Regions from separate parts of the Homo sapiens genome. Here region 1 is linked to region 2. The links are contacts of gene promoters, found by promoter capture Hi-C in blood cells and fetal thymus (Javierre and others, 2016). All regions are on one chromosome and are shown on one strand. The core of a region is centred on a gene start or on the middle of the fragment in contact, and the rest is flanking DNA. Distances in the headings are between cores, read along the strand shown.

The links. The method cuts DNA at HindIII sites, captures the fragments that hold promoters and counts their contacts. A CHiCAGO score of 5 or more calls a contact.
Region 1: a contact is called between a fragment that was not itself captured here and the fragment with the promoter of PTPRK in region 2, in 2 of 17 cell types (fetal thymus and total CD4 T cells). The highest score is 8.1, in fetal thymus.

The regions. Positions count from the first base shown.
Region 1 is chr6:127,513,378-127,517,445 of GRCh38, reverse strand. It overlaps MTCL3 (MTCL family member 3), which reads left to right. Exons shown (of 7, transcript NM_001400265.1): 2 at 744-1,932; 3 at 2,399-2,623. The coding sequence starts at 832. SOGA3-KIAA0408 (SOGA3-KIAA0408 readthrough) reads left to right here. Exons shown (of 13, transcript NR_174482.1): 2 at 744-1,932; 3 at 2,399-2,623. LOC107986642 (a long non-coding RNA gene) reads right to left here. Exons shown (of 2, transcript XR_001744337.2): 2 at 2,146-3,159. Among named protein-coding and RNA genes, the nearest start is that of MTCL3, 3.9 kb to the left of the region's middle. RefSeq lists a silencer at 1,198-1,427 and an enhancer at 2,115-2,639. The HindIII fragment of the contact is 3,876 bases long and covers 650-4,068 here.
Region 2 is chr6:128,517,515-128,522,095 of GRCh38, reverse strand. PTPRK (protein tyrosine phosphatase receptor type K) reads left to right here and starts at 1,497. Exons shown (of 30, transcript NM_002844.4): 1 at 1,497-1,837. The coding sequence starts at 1,738. RefSeq lists enhancers at 1,135-1,729, 1,730-2,323. The HindIII fragment of the contact is 3,706 bases long and covers 1-2,038 here.

The DNA of each region.
Region 1 (4,068 bases), core at 1,338-3,837, 1.0 Mb after region 2:
TAAAAATTATTTCCCAAAAGGGAAAAAATACGTTTTTGGGTTGCTAATAACTAACCCATATAGACAATTCTTAATGCTATTATTTTCTTGAAACTGAGATTGATTTAAAGGCATTCATTATTTATATTTTCTTTTAGTTCTATTATAAAGGAAGTTGGGTGCATTTTCCCAAAAACAACATTAAGGGTTGGAGCTGCCTGGGGAAAGTGTCATTTATCCGTAGAAAATATTCTCTAGGAACCCTACATCATAACCCTTTTCCTCTAATTGAACTTGGGAATACTAATTAAATGAAAACTTTCTCCAGTAAACTAGGCTTTACATATGGATTTGATGGTAAGGAAAGCCAAAGTTGTAAAAGCAGAGTTGACAACTCTAATATATGGATATCTTTTCTTTCTGAAGCTTCTTTTCCACTTTATCCTCTTTTCTTTTATATCTCCCTTTCCATCAATTCCTGTCTGACTCTGTATCTCACCCTTTCCAAAGCCTGCTACCATGAGAATGTAAGGTTCAGCTGCTTTCAGATCCGTCATTTTGCTGAGGTGGAGTGAGATGGAGACAGCGCCACCCTGGGCAAAATGAGAATTGACAGCCCTCCATCCTATTCCTAAAGACAGCCCTGCATCCTATTCCTAAAGTCAAAGCTTCTATTAAGCGCCATCCAAATGGAGCAATATCACCCTTTGCTCTGCAAAAATTCAGACATGTTGTCTTCTTCTCTCCTTTTGTTTCTGTCCCAGCTTAGGAAGGAAGGTTGGCGGCGGTGAAGAGGGAAGAGGATGATCTAGTAATGGGCTCTTCCAAATCGCATCTGGTAGGTTCATAGCCATGAGTCAGCCACCAATCGGGGGCGCTGCCCCTGCCACAGCAGCAGCTTCTCCCGCCGCTGCAGCCACTGAGGCTCGTCTGCACCCGGAGGGCAGCAGCAGAAAGCAGCAGCGAGCTCAGTCACCCGCTAGACCGAGGGACAGTTCGCTGCGACAGACAATCGCGGCCACCCGGTCCCCAGTGGGGGCCGGCACTAAACTCAATTCTGTTCGGCAGCAGCAGCTGCAGCAGCAGCAACAGCAGGGTAACAAGACCGGGAGCCGCACGGGGCCGCCCGCCAGCATCCGAGGAGGCGGAGGTGGGGCCGAGAAGGCGACGCCCCTGGCGCCCAAAGGGGCCGCTCCGGGAGCTGTCCAGCCTGTGGCTGGTGCTGAAGCGGCCCCCGCCGCGACCCTGGCCGCTTTGGGCGGCAGGAGGCCCGGACCGCCCGAGGAGCCGCCTCGGGAGCTAGAGTCCGTGCCCTCGAAACTCGGGGAACCCCCTCCGCTCGGAGAAGGGGGAGGAGGGGGCGGGGAAGGAGGAGGAGCCGGCGGCGGCTCCGGGGAAAGGGAGGGGGGCGCTCCGCAGCCGCCGCCGCCCAGGGGCTGGCGAGGGAAAGGCGTACGCGCTCAGCAGAGGGGCGGCAGCGGCGGGGAGGGGGCCTCCCCTTCTCCATCCTCCTCTTCTGCGGGCAAAACCCCAGGAACCGGCAGCAGAAACTCCGGAAGCGGCGTTGCGGGGGGCGGCAGCGGTGGTGGAGGGAGCTACTGGAAAGAAGGATGTCTGCAGTCTGAGCTCATCCAGTTCCATCTCAAGAAGGAGCGGGCGGCAGCGGCGGCGGCCGCGGCTCAGATGCACGCTAAGAACGGCGGCGGCAGCAGTAGCCGCAGCTCCCCGGTGTCTGGCCCCCCTGCCGTTTGCGAGACCCTGGCCGTCGCCTCCGCCTCCCCAATGGCGGCGGCGGCGGAGGGCCCCCAGCAGAGCGCAGAGGGCAGCGCGAGCGGCGGGGGCATGCAGGCGGCAGCGCCCCCTTCGTCGCAGCCGCACCCGCAGCAGCTCCAAGAGCAGGAAGAAATGCAAGAGGAGATGGAGAAGCTGCGAGAGGAAAACGAGACTCTCAAGGTGAGGAGGGTGGGGGGACCCGGCTGGGGGATGGGAAGAGTGGGCCTGGGAGGATTAGGGCGTGTACCGGCAGGGATCAGAGGCTGCTAACCTGTTAGGGAGCCTTGAAGAGGGAGGAGAACAAGAAAGGAGGGAGGGGGTTTCCTAGGCCTTGCCGGAATTTGAATCTGCTCTCAGTAACGCGAGGTTTTCATTTAAATTCAAATCTGGGCCTCCGTTTCTCTAATTATAATGGTTTGTCACACTTCTTCCTGGAGAGAGGTAGAGTAAGAGAACGAGAGAGGGCCTAAAGTGGGCCTTTTTCCCCCAGTTTCCTCTTCTGTACTCAGCTCCTTGTCACTCCTGTCTCGTGGAGAGAGAGGGCAATTAAAGCTGAGAATTTGGAATTGGAATGGGGTGTGTACGGTGTGTGTCGGAAGGGCTGGAAGCGAGTTTGATTTTGACACGCGGCCTGTCACCGCCTCAGAACGAGATCGATGAGCTGAGAACCGAGATGGACGAGATGAGGGACACTTTCTTCGAGGAGGATGCCTGTCAACTGCAGGAAATGCGCCACGAGTTGGAGAGAGCCAACAAAAACTGCCGGATCCTGCAGTACCGCCTCCGCAAAGCCGAGCGCAAAAGGCTCCGCTACGCCCAGACCGGGGAAATCGACGGGGAGCTGTTGCGCAGCCTGGAGCAGGACCTCAAGGTCTGCGGCGCGGGGGCTCAATGGCGCGCGGCAGGGGCGGTGGGTGGGGACTTTGGCCAAGGGCTCTTTAGGCTGAGAAGTCTTCAGTGGCGACTGGCAAGGAGCCTTAGGGACACAGTTTCGTAGCGCTAACCACAAAATACTAGGGTCTCAGAAGGGAGAGAACTGGCAGGTGGCTCTAAAGAGTGCAGAGTGTGTGGAGGGCCTGGCAGCAAACGAGCTAAGTGTGCTCTCCTGGGAGCAAAGGTGGCTCTTCAAGAGGTGATGAGAAGAAGGCTCCCTTCTGGGCAGAAGCAAGGGCGTGGCAGAGCGCAGGCTCTAGCCTTTGATCTGCCCTTCAGTCTGTCTACTGAGAGAAGTCCGGTGGAATCGGGCAGTCAGGAGCTGCACTAAAAGGACTCCTCTGGGGGAGTTGAAACCCAAAATAGGAACTGCACTGGGAAGATACTAGAGTTAAGATTTCTTTCAGCAAGTGTCCACTCCACTTCCTTCTTCCAGGACTTCTTCCTTTCTGCACTTGCCACTTAGGTGACTCCCTGAGGGGGAAAAAAAAAACAGATAACCAACTTGCAGCCTGTTTGGTGTGAGGTAAATGAAATAATCTCATTTTTTTAAAGTGCAATTGTTCCTTCAGAATTTCTTCCAGTGGAAAAATCTCAACCTTGAAGTGCATTTTCTAGACAGGTGTGGTCTCCAGTTCAGTTTGACTGTAGGCAGATTCATTGACTATGCAAACTAGACATTAACTTAATCTCCTTGCACAACCAAATAAGTATACGTTCATTGCATTAACTTCATTGGGATTTAAAGATCACGTGTAATCTTTGTTTTAAAGAAAGCTATGTGTAAACATTTTATGAAAGACGTATTACTTTTTTTCTTAACTTTTGTCGAGTGCTTAGTATGTACTAAGCACTGTGGCAAACACTGTTACATACATTATTATTTCATTTAATTCTCAAGGGAAAAAAAATCCTACAATGTAGGGATTATTAAGGCACCATTTTATAGGTGCAGAAGCTACACCTTTTACAGAGGTTAAGTGCCCAGGCCTGGAAAACAGCTAATAGGTGCCAGGCTGACTCTCCACTCAGTCCAAAATCACAACCTGTGTCCTAAGCCTCTACACCAGTCTGCTCCACTTTTCTTCCAAACCCTAGAATTTCCAGGATAATCTCAAAATATGAGGCAAAAATGCACAGTCATTCAAAAAATAATAATCTCAAGGACTAAAACTTTCCTAAGATTAAGCAACTGGAATTCAAGCTATAAGATTGAAATTCAAGCCCAACCCACTACTTGTAAAAACTTCAATTTTTCATTCTTTAACATAGATTATAATGGAAACATCTACCTCATAGTTTTGCTGAAGTAAAGGAAATTTGTGAAATTTCTCTACATGTGATAAAATGCAATAGAACATTTTTTACCACAGAGTAGTGCAG
Region 2 (4,581 bases), core at 248-2,747:
TTAAAGAAATGGAATGGTGATGGTGTGTTGAAAGGTATAGGTTAATGAGTTAAAAAAAAAAAATCTACATTGCACCCTAAGGAAGGATGAACTTAACTATGCTGAACTGAATTGACAAGGGTTGAGCTAGTCAGTGTGCTAATGAGCAGGCTACTATTCTCATAGAATTTTTAAAAGTCTTTTCTGCCTGATATGTATGTGTGTATAATATGTATTTATATATGTATATATTTGTGTGTATATTTATTACATTTTTGTTTCCACAGGCTCTGTCATAAGTCTGGTCATTAATAGCATATATTTGATTAAAAGAATATGTGGCTTGGTAAATTATGTGAATGTTATATTAAAATGAATTTCACATTGTCTTGATTTACAAAGGCTAAGATGTCTGAGAAACTGAGAGATGTCAATCAACAGACTATTGTTTTAGCAATTGTACATAACACATAAAAATTCTGAATCAAAGTTATTATGTTATTCAATTGTGACCATACCTATTTTTTGTGACATTTTACAAAAATGAATAAAGTATGCACCATACAGTCTTACCACAGAAGTAAGGCAGGGTGGCATATGGCGAAACCACTTCAAGCTGCTGAAGTAGTTAACTGTGAAATATTTTACTGTCATAATATAGCATTATTTTCTGCCAGATGAATCATTCCGAAGAAGCTGTTTTCATGGTCAGTGTAAAAGTCCTTTTGTTAAATACTTATGTCTTAACTACCTACTAGATATTAAAAAAAACAAAACCACACACACACCAGACCTAGGTGCAAGGAAGGGATAATAAGCCCTGATGCAGTTCTTAGGTGAGAACTGGAAAGGGGCCGGAGGGTTTCAGAGCAACAAGCAAAGTCAGTGAAGCAGAGTAAATCCAAATACTTGGCCAATGACAAATAAACCAGAAAGGAGACACGCCAGCTGTTCACGCTGGAAAGTTACTGATCGTTTATTCTGGTTCAAGTTTTATTTATTCTATGAATAAGGGACAAGTTTTCGATGGGGGTGGGGTGTCTTATTCCTTATTACAAGAATAAGGAACGGGGAGTTTTCAAGGCAGGCGGGTGTTTCCTCAGGGCGCTTCCACACTCCCCTTTCAATCAGCAACCGCTCGGGGGGACCTCCACCTTGGGACGGAACCCCAGGACGCCTCTCCTCGGACGGCGGGGGTTTCTCTGCGCGCGTCCTCGGTCGTCTGGTCGCACGGCTTACCGAACTCTCGCCTCTCAAATTCTGAGTTCTGGAACAGGGCAGCGAGCTGCGCCGGCTCCCCTTTCTCGCTCGCTCCCTCCGAGCAGCGGCTGGCGGCGGGGCCCAGGCTGCGAACAAAGGCGGCGCGGGGCGCGCGGCCGGGGCTGGCGCGCGTCTCTCCGGCAGGAGGCGGTGGCGGCGCCGCGCCCGAGCCCGCATTCCTCAGAAGCGCCCGGAGCCCGCGGGGCGACGTCACCCCCGGCTCCGCCCCCGTCCCTCCCCGAGCAAAGTAACTCTTGACTAACAGGAGCAGCCTCCGCCGAGCATGGAGAGCTGCCGCCGCGGCCGGCCGGCGACGCTGGCGACGCTTTCGCCCCTGAGGTAGTTTGGCGACCGCGAAGAAGGAAAAAGGGCGGGCGGGCGGCTGTCCTCTCACCGTCCTCACCCCGCGAGGCCCGGCCCGCTCCTCCGTCGTGGATTTCGCGGCGATCCCCCCGGCAGCTCTTTGCAAAGCTGCTTGAAACTTCTCCCAAACTCGGCATGGATACGACTGCGGCGGCGGCGCTGCCTGCTTTTGTGGCGCTCTTGCTCCTCTCTCCTTGGCCTCTCCTGGGATCGGCCCAAGGCCAGTTCTCCGCAGGTGAGTGGCCGGGGGGCGTCCCCGACGAACGCCTGGAGTCCTGGGCTCACGAGGGGTGAGCCAGGTCCCCGCTAGGGCTGGGGACAAGGATCGTGGGGAGCTCTCTCTGTCCGGGGGTGGGGAACACAGGGTAGAGGGAGGGCTGTCCCCAGAGTTCGTGCCAGGTGGGACGCGGGGCACCCATTGTTCCTCTCCGAAGCTTGCTCGGGGCTCAGGCTGGCACGGTCTAGCCGGAGAGTGTGGGGACCTGCTGGCTTCGGCGTCTCGCGTGGCCTGCGCCGGGCTAGTGGGGAAGAGAGAAAGAAAAAGTAGTTACGACTCCCGTGACGGCACTCTGTTGCTTGTGGTGCGGGTTTGTTGCTGTCTGCCACTTGGGTGTTTAAACAAATTCCCTGGGAAGCCATTGTCAGAAATGTGGAGATTCGAAGGGACTGACCTCGGCGCGCTTTGCCAGGTGCTTTTTGTCCCGGGAATAACCTCCCCTGACTATTGTCTAACTACTTCCCCGTCCCTCCCGGAGTCCCCTTTTCTCCTCCCCCAGCTCTGGGTTGCTCCCGGGCTTGCCCTGTGCGCTCGGGCACTGCTTGGAGCATGTTCTGTGTGTGTGTTGGCGGAGCCCTGTAAGATGTGTTGAAATGCGGTTCTAAGGACCCACTCTGAGCGTTCATGGGCATCGAGGTCTGGGCGCCTGGTGGAGGAAGCCTGACTCGCGCGTGGGAGCCCGCTCCTCGGGCAAAACCACCGCCAGGCTGGCCCCGCGCTCCCCGGATCCGGCCTGGGGCTCTGGCCCCGCGCTCCCCGGATCCGGCCTGGGGCTGGAAGCGGACTGTAAATGTCTGCCTTCTGCCGGAGAACCCAAAAGGAGACAAGTGGAGCGTCTCGCTGTAGCCCTGGGGGTTCTCGGTCAAGCCGCTCAGAGAAGTCCGTGAACCCTGGCTCTCCCGGTCCCGCCCTCTGTTCCCCTCCAGTTTTGTTATCCTTCGTGTAGGTTGGTTGCTTCTTTCGTTCTCTCCTCTGGGGGCTCTGAAGTTTCACCAGGTGGACGCTGGGGAGCGGGCTCCCGAGCACTTGTCTACCTCCCGCCAGTCCTGACAACTTTTCTGGCCAACCTACCCAGCTTCGCTTGGCTGGCGAGCGCATCTGCTGCTGGGGTTCGCGGTGCAGATGGAGACGCAGTGGTGGCCAGAGGGTGATGGAGAAGACGGGAAAAGCGACAGCCACGCTCCTGGCTGAAGCCGCAGGACGCAAATAACTTACTTTGTACCTGACAGTTTCTCACGTTGTTGTGGAGGCCCTGTTTCCTGGAAATAAACTCAAATTGTTGTTTTCTGGAGTAATCGTTTATTTCCCTTCCATTGCTCTCCTACCCCCGCCCCATTTAGAACTCTGTAAAGGGAGTTAAACAACAGATTCAGGTGGCAGCATGTGTCGTACATTCAGGCAGAGATTATGAAATGGCAGCACGCAGAGGAAAAGCCCTGTATATAATTGATGTACGCAGAGGGTAACAGCTCTATGCAAAAAATAATCCAATGGTTTAATTGAATTCTTTCTGGAGTAAGCATTACTGCATGCATTTCTGACATATAATGCCCGTTAGCATTGAAACCGTGCTTGATGTAACTCATTATATGCAGGCAAGTTGGAGTGAGTATTGATTTCTGCACAGTGTTTGTCACTGCACGGAGAGCCTACGCTTGAAAAGGCTTGTAGTTTGTTAATTGAAAGTTTGAACTCTACCAGTTGCATAATTAAACTTACATGTATTCAAGAGTTGCAACTATTAATGTCTCAACAGCGATGGATATATTTTCAGCAGTTAGAAAACTTTTTCTCTTTTTAAATGTTATTTACCCTTTAATTAACAAATAAATACTACTTTTCCTCCAGCTGAATGTGAAAATGAGCTTTTCTGATACCTGGAGTTTAGATACGTACAATAAACAATTGTGTTCTTAGATATCTAGTTCTAAGTACTTTAACTAAATATGCCTGGCTTTTCTTTAGTGACAAAGCATAACATTTGACATGATGTTGTATATTTAATTAATATAATGTGCATTCCTAAAAAGTACAGTAATCACAGGATTGCATCTCAAGATTTTGCCCTTTAGGAATGTATGCCCAGAAATGAATGTCTTTTATTCCCAGAGTTTAAAGTCAGATTGTGGATTTGCCTTTCTCCACAAATTATAAGTTTGTTTTGTAAATACTTCCTTTTTTTTCTGGCTACCATAAATCATTTGATATTTTATTGTCATAAAATTCTATGGCAGTCAGATTTGTTGCAGACATAGATTAGAGATGTATTGAAGATTGGAGGTGTATTCCATATTGCTGGTTTTTCTTATATTTTACTTTAACTAGTGAACTTTTATTCCTTTTGAGAAATTTAAATAAACCCACTTTAAAAGTCCAAGACAAATTCATGTTGAGAATTTAAAAATATCTGAAGTATGTCTTTCAAATCATACTCATTAAGATCAGTTTACTTTCCGATATCATGTGGTTCCTAATGTAGTAAGCTTCAAAAGCAAATTTTGAAAGGCTGAGCATTGTTGGGACTTTGATGTGTCATATACTTATTCAGTTTTCTTTGTTTAAACCAAAAATGTAAGAGTGTTTTCATTATTGTGACTTTTTTCTTAGCTTTTGCAGTTAAAGTGTAAAACTGCTGCACTGTGAGCCTCTTTAAAACCAGAACGTTCTGTAAATCCCAACTCATACATTCTTTCAGTTTCACC